Linked DNA regions of Homo sapiens: all the other regions are linked to region 3. The links are contacts of gene promoters, found by promoter capture Hi-C in human tissues and cell types (Jung and others, 2019). All regions are on one chromosome and are shown on one strand. The core of a region is centred on a gene start or on the middle of the fragment in contact, and the rest is flanking DNA. Distances in the headings are between cores, read along the strand shown. Region 1 overlaps BTRC (beta-transducin repeat containing E3 ubiquitin protein ligase). Region 2 overlaps BTRC (beta-transducin repeat containing E3 ubiquitin protein ligase). Region 3 holds the start of POLL (DNA polymerase lambda).

Region 1 (2,747 bases), core at 19-2,518, 160 kb before region 3:
CAGTTTCAGCTTTCTATATATGGCTAGCCAGTTTTCCCAGCACCATTTATTAAATAGGGAATCCTTTCCCCATTTCTTGTTTTTGTCAGGTTTGTCAAAGATCAGATAGTTGTAGATGTGTGTTATTATTTCTGAGGGCTCTGTTCTGTTCCATTGGTCTATATCTCTGTTTTGGTACCAGTACCATGCCGTTTTGGTTACTGTTGCCTTGTAGTATAGTTTGAAGTCAGGTAGCATGATGCCTCCAGCTTTGTTCTTTTGGCTTAGGATTGACTTGGCAATGCGGGCTCTTTTTTGGTTCCATATGAACTTTAAAGTAGTTTTTTCCAATTCTGTGAAGAAAGTCATTGGTATTGATATTGATTCTTCCTATCCATGAGTTTTTTTTAATTAAGTTAAATTTTTTTTATTTTCCAGTTTTTCATAAAAATAGAGATGGGGTCTAGTTATGTTGACCAGGCTGGTCTTGAACTCCTGGTCTCAAGCAGTCCTCCCACCTTGGCCTCCCAAAGTGGTGGGATTATACACATGAGCCACCTTGCCTGACCCTCTCTGGGTCTTATTTACCTTACTAGTTTATTATACAGGTGAATGAATTGGGGAAGAGCTTGTTCCGCAATTCATTGCCAAACAATGAATTGTTAGACTGACAAAGCTAACTAACAAAGCTTGTTAGTTTGTTATACAGAGAATGTTATACAGATGCAGCTTGTTAGTTTGTTATACATATAGTAACAAGTGCTACAATAAAATTAAAGTCTGTGACTGAGCTTTTCTAAATATTTGAAAATTTACCTAAACTTATAGTAGCTGTTGTCTAATGCAATTTAGTACATTGTTAAATTTTTTCTTGTAGTTACTATTTGTTAGTAGTTTATCTCCTTGAAATAGAGTGTAAACTACTTGAGTCTGTGGATTTGTGGAGACAAACACATTTGAGTATTATTTCTGCCATTGTCATTTAGGCACTATAACTTCACTGAACTTGAGTGTACTCTCTTGTTAAGGCAAAAGTACTAATAATTCTTTGACAAGAAGGTAATGCTTAAATGAAATAATGTACTTAAGGGATCTAGTACAATGCCTGGCAGACAGTTTATTCCCGGTAAACTTTACTTATCCTCTTTTTGTACTCCACCTGTGCCCACTTTGGTAATGAAAAAATAAATGGCTTCCCAGAACAGTTTGAAATGCAAGTGGCATTCACAGAAGCCTATTCCTGGTGATGATGCCATTTATATTTTTTTCTTTTGCACTTTGCAGCTTTTAGAATCCTTATTTTAGCCGGGTGAGGTGGCTCGTGCCTGTAATCCCAGCACTTTGGGAGGCCAAGGCAGGTGGATCACCTGAGTTCAGGAGTTCGAGACCAGCCTGGCTAACATGGAGAAACCCTGCCTGTCTCTACCAAAAATACAAAAATTAGTCAGGCGTGGTGGTGCATGCCGGCAGTCCCAGCTACTCAGGAGGCTTAGTCAGGAAAATCACTTGAACCTGGGAGGCGGAGGTTGCAGTGAGCCGAGATCATGGCATTGCACTCCAACCTGGGCAACAAAAGTAAAACTCTGTCTCAAAGAAAAAAAAAGAATCCTTGTTTTAGTTTTACCACAACCTTGTGCAATAAGGCTGGGCAGATATGATTATCCTATCTGACAGGTGGGAGTTTTGTTTTTGGAGTGAACTAAATTGGGATTCTTAAGAGGCAATCATTGGATTTGTAGGTAAAGTCTGAATGTATTACATGATTATGGTATACTGCATTTCTCTGAATTTCTTAGTTGATATAGTAGTGAAAAGGGAATTCTTCTATTCCATGGCTTAAGGATACGTAAACTCTCAGTACAGCAATCTTTTTATTGTTGATTATTATAGCTTCTGTTACTCCTAGAAGTTGACCAACAGGGACCTTAATTTAGGAGATTTTGTCATTCAGCTTTCGTATAGTAAATGCTGAGGCTAGCCCTTTGCCTGCAGGGCTATCAGTGAAGAGGATCTGTGACATTACTCCAGACAGCCAAGTGTAGGGGGAAGAGTTGAGATTTTCAGTGTTCTCTGTGTAAATGAATTGTGCCATTGAACCTGATGGGCACTAGATACTATATTCTTCTTGAAGCACTGGAGGCCCTTCATTGCAATCTTGTTTTTTCAACTTTTATTTTAAAATTGGGGTATATGTGCAGGTTTGTTACAGAGATATACTGCACGATGCTGAGGTTTGGAGTCTGAGTGAATCTCACCCAGGTAGAGAGTGCAAAGTACCCATAGGTAGTTTTTTCAAGCTTTACCCCCTTTGTCCTCCCACCTTTTGTATTCCTCAGTGTCTGTTCCCTTCTTTATGTCCATGTGTACTCAAGGTTTTGTTCCTATGTATAAGTGAGAAAATGTGGCATTTGGTTTTCTGTTTCTGCATTAGTTCGCTTAGGATAATGGCTTCTAGCTGCATCCATGTTCTGCAGAGGACATGATTTCATTATTTTTTATGGCTACTTAGTATTCCATGGTATATGTGTACTGCATTTTCTTTATCCAGTCTTCCGTTGATGGGTACCTGGGTTGATTCTGTGTCTTTACTATCGCATTGCAGCATTTCAATTTTTTTTCTGATTCAGGTAGTAGAAAACATGTTCAGTCTTATTTTTTTCTGTGCTGTGTATGCTTTTTAAAGGCTAGTGAAGTCATTCAGTTGGATAACAACAATTATAATACATTGTTATACTCTTCAACTTTCTTTGATTTTGCAAAGGAGAGTC
Region 2 (2,719 bases), core at 8-2,507, 230 kb before region 3:
GAAGCTATTTGAGCTAGCATCAAATAATTAGTGCACAGTACACATGGAAGAACTATCCTTTTAATCAAACGGGCATTTTTATTACTATTTGGCTTTGTTCTGGTCTTAACCTTTCCCTCAATTGTGAATCGCTAATGACAACTTTTATACAGATGTCATGATTTCCATGGTTTAAACAAATGTAAAATTAGTTTAAAATGCCAGAATGAAATGGATACTCTCACAAATTTGCTCATTGCTATACTAAAGTGCCTTGATAAAGAATTTTACAATAAAATCCTGTTAATAAGACTGCTGATTCAGAGATGACCATAATTCACACGTGATCGAGACTTAAAGCTTATTGTTTTACTTGTGAAAAAAGTTTAAGCAGAATGTTTAACTTTTAAAAACAAATAAATGATATTGAAAGCAACGGTTTACATTAACTTACGTGCTAATGTCTCTCATTCAGCTTTAGCAGGTCCTCAAGGACCTTTCTTAATACTTTTTTGGTTAACAAAAGTATAAATGGAAACTTGAAGAGAACCTAAGAAGAGAAATGAAAATGATTGAGGGAATATAGACCCCAAAACACACAAACACACACACACAAGCACGTTTAAGATAGGGGTTGAAAAGACATACTGAGGAGGAATTTGAACTTTATTTTTGTTTTCACCTTTGAGACAGGGTCTCACTATGTTGCCCAGGCTAGAGTGCAGTCATAGCTTGCTGCAGCCTCAAACTCCCAGGCTCACATGATCCTCCTGCCTCGGCGTCTCAAGTGGCTACAGGCACACACCACTATGCTGGCTATTTTTTTTTTCTTTTTTGTTTTTGTAGAGACAAGGGTCGCCCTTTGTTGACAGGGGTGGTTTTTGAACTCCTGGGCTCAAGGGGTCCTCCTGCCTTGGCCTCCCATTGTTGGGATTACAGGCGTGAGCCACCTTGCCAAGCCACGTTTATTTTTAAAAACAGGATAAATATATTCTTGTCCAGCCAATCCCAGAATCAAGTACAGTAGCTTGAAATAGATGAAATAATTTTAGAATGTATTGTTTTATTTATAGAGCTGATAGATAAATGAAACAGTATAAAGGGTAAATATTTGCTGTTTAACAGACAACCTCAAAACTTAGCTTAAAAAAAACAATTATTTTTCCCCTCAAATCTGATGGTTTTTCTGCTTCACTTGGTATTGGCTGAGGTGTGGGAAAGACCTTCACTTCTCCTCTATATGGGCCTTTCTCTACCTGGCTGCTTGGATTTCCTTAAAGTGTGGTGGCAAGGTTCTAAGAAGGGACATTCCAGGAGACAGGAGGTAGAGACTGCCAGTCTTCTAAATCCTAGATTTGGAAGTCCAAGAATGTCACTGTGGGTCAAAGCCAGTCAAGGCCAACTACAGAGGGAGGAGAAATAATGTCTACCTATTGATAGGAAGGGTGGCGTGCATAAACAAGGAAGGGGGAATTGCTGGGGGCCACCTTTTGAGACTTGCTACCGTAGGTGCTATGCTAGTTGGATGTTAAGGCTAAAAATAAAAATGGTATCGGCCAAGTTTGTGGGTCATAATGCTAGGAATGTTTAGGAGGCATCTCTTTTTTTGAGGTTAACTTCGGAAGGCACTAACATGATCTCCTGCGTGACTTCCCTTAATGATGTCACTGTTGACATAATACTGGGTGAATTAATGTGATTAAGTAAACTTGCTTACTTACTTCAGGAAACAGAGGTATCTAAACAGATTACATTTTAAAATAAATTGTCAGATGTTTCACTGTAATGGAATTTTCTTTACATCAGTGAAATTGATTACCAGGTAGTGGGATGAACATCTGAAACTAGTTCTTAGTTTAAGTTGTCTGAGTTTTTGTGTATACTTTACCTATTCCCAGTTTAAATTGGCTTTCAAACAGTTTGTTTTCTGGGTACTCTTATAGGTGTTGGGGTATGAAATTAGTGGTAATTCTTTTTGCCTATTTTCTTTTTTTTTGTCTGAGATACCCTGAGTCTCGCTCTGTTGCCCAGACTGGAGTGCAGTGGCACAATTTCGGTTCACTGCAACCTCCGCCTCCTGGGTTCAAATGATTCTCCTGCCTCAGCCTCCTAAGTAGCTGGAATTACAGGCGTGTACCACCTTGCCTGGCTAATTTTGTTGTATTTTTTTTTTTTTGAGATGGAGTTTTGGTCTTGTTGCCCAGGCTGGAGTGCAATGGTGCAAACTCAGTTCACTGCAACCTCTGCTTCTGAGGTTCAAGTGATTCTCCTTCCTCAGCCTCCCCTGTAGCTGGGATTACAGGCATGCACCACCACACCCAGCTAATTTTGTATTTTTGGTAGAGACAGGGCTTTTCCATGTTGGTCAGGCTGGTCTCGAACTCCCAACCTCAGGTGATCTGCCCGCCTTGGCCTCCCAAAGTGCTGAGATTACAGGCGTGAGCTGCCGTGTCCGGCCTCTTTTTGCTAATTTTCTAAATTTATGTTTATAGTAGATTTTCATAAATTATCAAAAGTGAATTATTAGATGTGGAGTAAAAATTCAACTTTGAGTAGTTTTAGAAATTATTTATTGCTAAATTAGAAAATAAACTTTCAAAAGAGATCTCTTTTTTTTAAAAAAACTTAATTGAGACAGGGTCTCACTCTGTCACCCAGGCTGGAGTACAGTGGTGCAACCTTGGCTCACTGCAGCCCCTACCTCCTGGGTTCAAGCAATTCTTGTGCCTCAGCCTCCCAG
Region 3 (2,797 bases), core at 15-2,514:
GTCATTCCCTGAGGGCCCAGGGAGTCTTTTCTGATGGATAGAGGTCTTCGGGTAGAAAAGAAGGTAACACAGCAAATAGCCTGTCCAAGACCCAGGACCAAGCTTAGCACAAGGTAGATACAAACAGACCTGCAGGCCCTGGACAGGCAGAGTCAGCTCCAATATCTGATTCTGGACATAAACAACGTAGGGCTGAAGCACATGAAGGCTGTGGGTTCAAGCACACGAGGGTTCTGAGACTGGGTCAGCTCACCTTCTGCTTCTTCTCCCTCTTCCCTCCTAGGAATCTTTGCAAGTACTTTTGATGATGCATCAGCATGAATTTTCTGCCGCTTGGGAAATGCCTTCAAGATACCCCTGGGATCCATTGAAGTATGGCTGGATCCCGGCCTATTGGAGCGTTGGTCAGGGCTGCTGCACGTGGAAATCCAGAATTGAGGCCCTCCAACCCCTTTGCCTATGGAGGTAGGGTCTTTCCTGACCAGGCTTTGGGGGTAGCAGCCCAGTTTGGGGAAGCGGGTCGGGGGAGGGGGTCTCTTCAAACCCGGTTAAACTTCAGTGGTTTAGCCTAGCTTCACACTCCCCAGCCTTTCGAAGTTGGAGTATTACGGGAAATGAGGGGAAGGCTGGTGCCATCGGGGGTACTTTTGAGGAGTAGGAAACGACACCATTCCTCAGAGGGGTTGCGCTAAAGATTCAGCACAGCCCTGCTGCGGCCCACTTCGAAGGGCTTTACCAAATGGGATGCTGGGCTAGGAAATGGAGCTTTAGGGGATGGAGCGGAGCCTGGGGAGGACCTGCACATAAACCCCACATACTATTTCTCTACCTCCAACACAGACTCGCAGAGGAAGGAGGAGGACTTTCGGGGGTGAGTGGGAACGCCCTGCACCTGTCCTGGTCTCAGCCTCTCGACATGGGGGTGCTCAGCGCCGCAGCTGCGGGGAGATGGGGCACGGCCGCAGCAGGTGTGGGGAGCCCTCCGGGAATGGAGGAGTCTCGCAGCTGCGGGTGAAGTCCCGGGCAGGTGCGGTGTACTCGCCGTGTACGCAGCTGGCGCAGGCCAGGGAATCCCAGCTCGGGGCTAGAAGAAAGCTGGAGTGCCCGACCCCGGCCCCAAGAGTCTCTCCAACCCCCAGAGTCGGTCCCCGGGTGGGGTCGACTACTGGCCAAGCTAGTCACCCGGGGGTGGGCAGGAATAGACCACTTACCAGCAGAGCCAATGAGAGCGGACGAAGGGGGGAAGGAGGGCAAATGGCCAGAATAGCTTCCGAGTCAGCCGGAAGTGACCCTCTGGAACGGTTGCCATGGCAGCGGCTGGGCGTGCTGCTTAGCAGGGGAAAGATGGCGGTGACGGGCTGGTTGGAGAGTCTGCGGACAGCCCAGAAGACTGCGCTGCTGCAGGACGGTAACTCGAGGGTCCCCACGGGCTCCTTCGTTTTTTTCCCTCAGGGTCCGGCCCTCCGGGAAGGGCCTCAGGGCCTGGGTCGGCAGAGCTGGAAGGGTCTCGGCGGTCAGCCGGGCCAGGTCCTGCATTTGCAGATGAGGAGACTGAGGTTCACAGAGATGACATGACTGGAACACATGTCTCCGGACACCCCTTAGATTCCTCTACACCATCTCGCTCCGCTCTGATTTCTGTTGCTAATATAGTAATTTCTTTTACATTCATTATCTCATTTGCTCCTCACCACTGTCCTGAGAGGCTAATTTTCACCCCGTTTTACAGAAGAGGAAACTGAAATCCAAGAATGTTTTAGACTTTAGAGAGGAGAGAGGCCTGGGCTCTAGTTCCGACTGTGCCATTAATTCACCACGGGCGCTTCAGTCGGCTCCTTTACTTGTTTGGGCCTCACTTTCCTCATCTATAAAATGAAGTGGATGGACTACCATTGTTATCTCTGAGGTCCTTTCCAGCTGTAATATTTTTGTTAAGTGAACTTCTAAATATTTTCTGTGTCTTTAGGGGAGCTAGAGCAAGAACCAAGGGCTGTGCCTGGAAGAAGTGGGCACAGGGGCATGGATACCTAACTTTTCCCCACCCTAGGATTGGCCGATGCCGGCCCCTTTGTGCACTTGGGTCCTTTCTGGACCCACTGGGTAGCCAGGATGAATTGCGTCTGAAGTTCCTGAGGCTTTCAAGATAACAACTGGTGACTCATGTTCACAGGCAGGGGCCAATCAGGGAAGCCTGGAGTTTGTGGAAATTAAAATCATTTACTCGTTCGTGCAACATTTAGGAAGACTTTTACTATGTGCCAAGCTCTAAACTAGAACAGAAAGAAAAAGATATGTTGTCCCAGGACTCAGAGTGGTTGGGAAAAACATGTACTTAAATAATAAGAAGCGTTAAATAGAGGTTGTAGTCTTGTATAAAATGGTAGGAAAGAGTGAAGGTGTAAGTGACATCTCTTTGGAGGAAGACCCAACAGAAGTGATGATGTTTCTGGGTCCTAAAGAATTAATAAGGTCAGGCACAGTGGCTCACGCCCGTAATTCCAGCACTCTGGGAGGCCAAAGTGGGCGGATCATTTGAGCTCAGGAGTTCGAGACCAGCTTGGGCAACATGGCCAAACCTCATCTCTACAAAAAATACGGAAATTATGGCCGGATGTGGTGGTTCACGCCTGTAATCCCAGCATGTTGGGAGGCCGAGTGGGCGGATCCCTTGAGGCCAGGAGTTCGAGACCAGCCTAGCCAACATGATGAAACCACCCCATCGCTACTAAAAATACAAAAAAATTAGCCAGGTGTGGTGGTGCGCACCCGTAATTCCAGCTACTCTGGAGGCTGAGGC

The links. The method cuts DNA at HindIII sites, captures the fragments that hold promoters and counts their contacts. A contact is called where the count stands out against the background at its distance.
Region 1: a fragment that was not itself captured here is called in contact with the fragment with the promoter of POLL in region 3 in 2 of the 25 tissues and cell types used here (adrenal gland and mesenchymal stem cells).
Region 2: a fragment that was not itself captured here is called in contact with the fragment with the promoter of POLL in region 3 in 1 of the 25 tissues and cell types used here (spleen).

Annotation. Positions count from the first base shown.
Region 1 is chr10:101,422,666-101,425,412 of GRCh38, forward strand. All of the region lies in intron 1 of BTRC (beta-transducin repeat containing E3 ubiquitin protein ligase), which reads left to right. Among named protein-coding and RNA genes, the nearest start is that of BTRC, 70 kb to the left of the region's middle. The HindIII fragment of the contact is 5,073 bases long and covers 1-2,747 here.
Region 2 is chr10:101,357,463-101,360,181 of GRCh38, forward strand. All of the region lies in intron 1 of BTRC (beta-transducin repeat containing E3 ubiquitin protein ligase), which reads left to right. Among named protein-coding and RNA genes, the nearest start is that of BTRC, 4.7 kb to the left of the region's middle. The HindIII fragment of the contact is 4,092 bases long and covers 1-2,719 here.
Region 3 is chr10:101,586,993-101,589,789 of GRCh38, forward strand. It overlaps POLL (DNA polymerase lambda), which reads right to left and starts at 1,265. Exons shown (of 9, transcript NM_001174084.2): 1 at 830-1,265; 2 at 254-414. The coding sequence starts at 368. It overlaps DPCD (deleted in primary ciliary dyskinesia homolog (mouse)), which reads left to right and starts at 1,329. Exons shown (of 6, transcript NM_015448.3): 1 at 1,329-1,408. The coding sequence starts at 1,345. RefSeq lists enhancers at 905-1,184, 1,285-1,614. The HindIII fragment of the contact is 10,926 bases long and covers 1-2,797 here.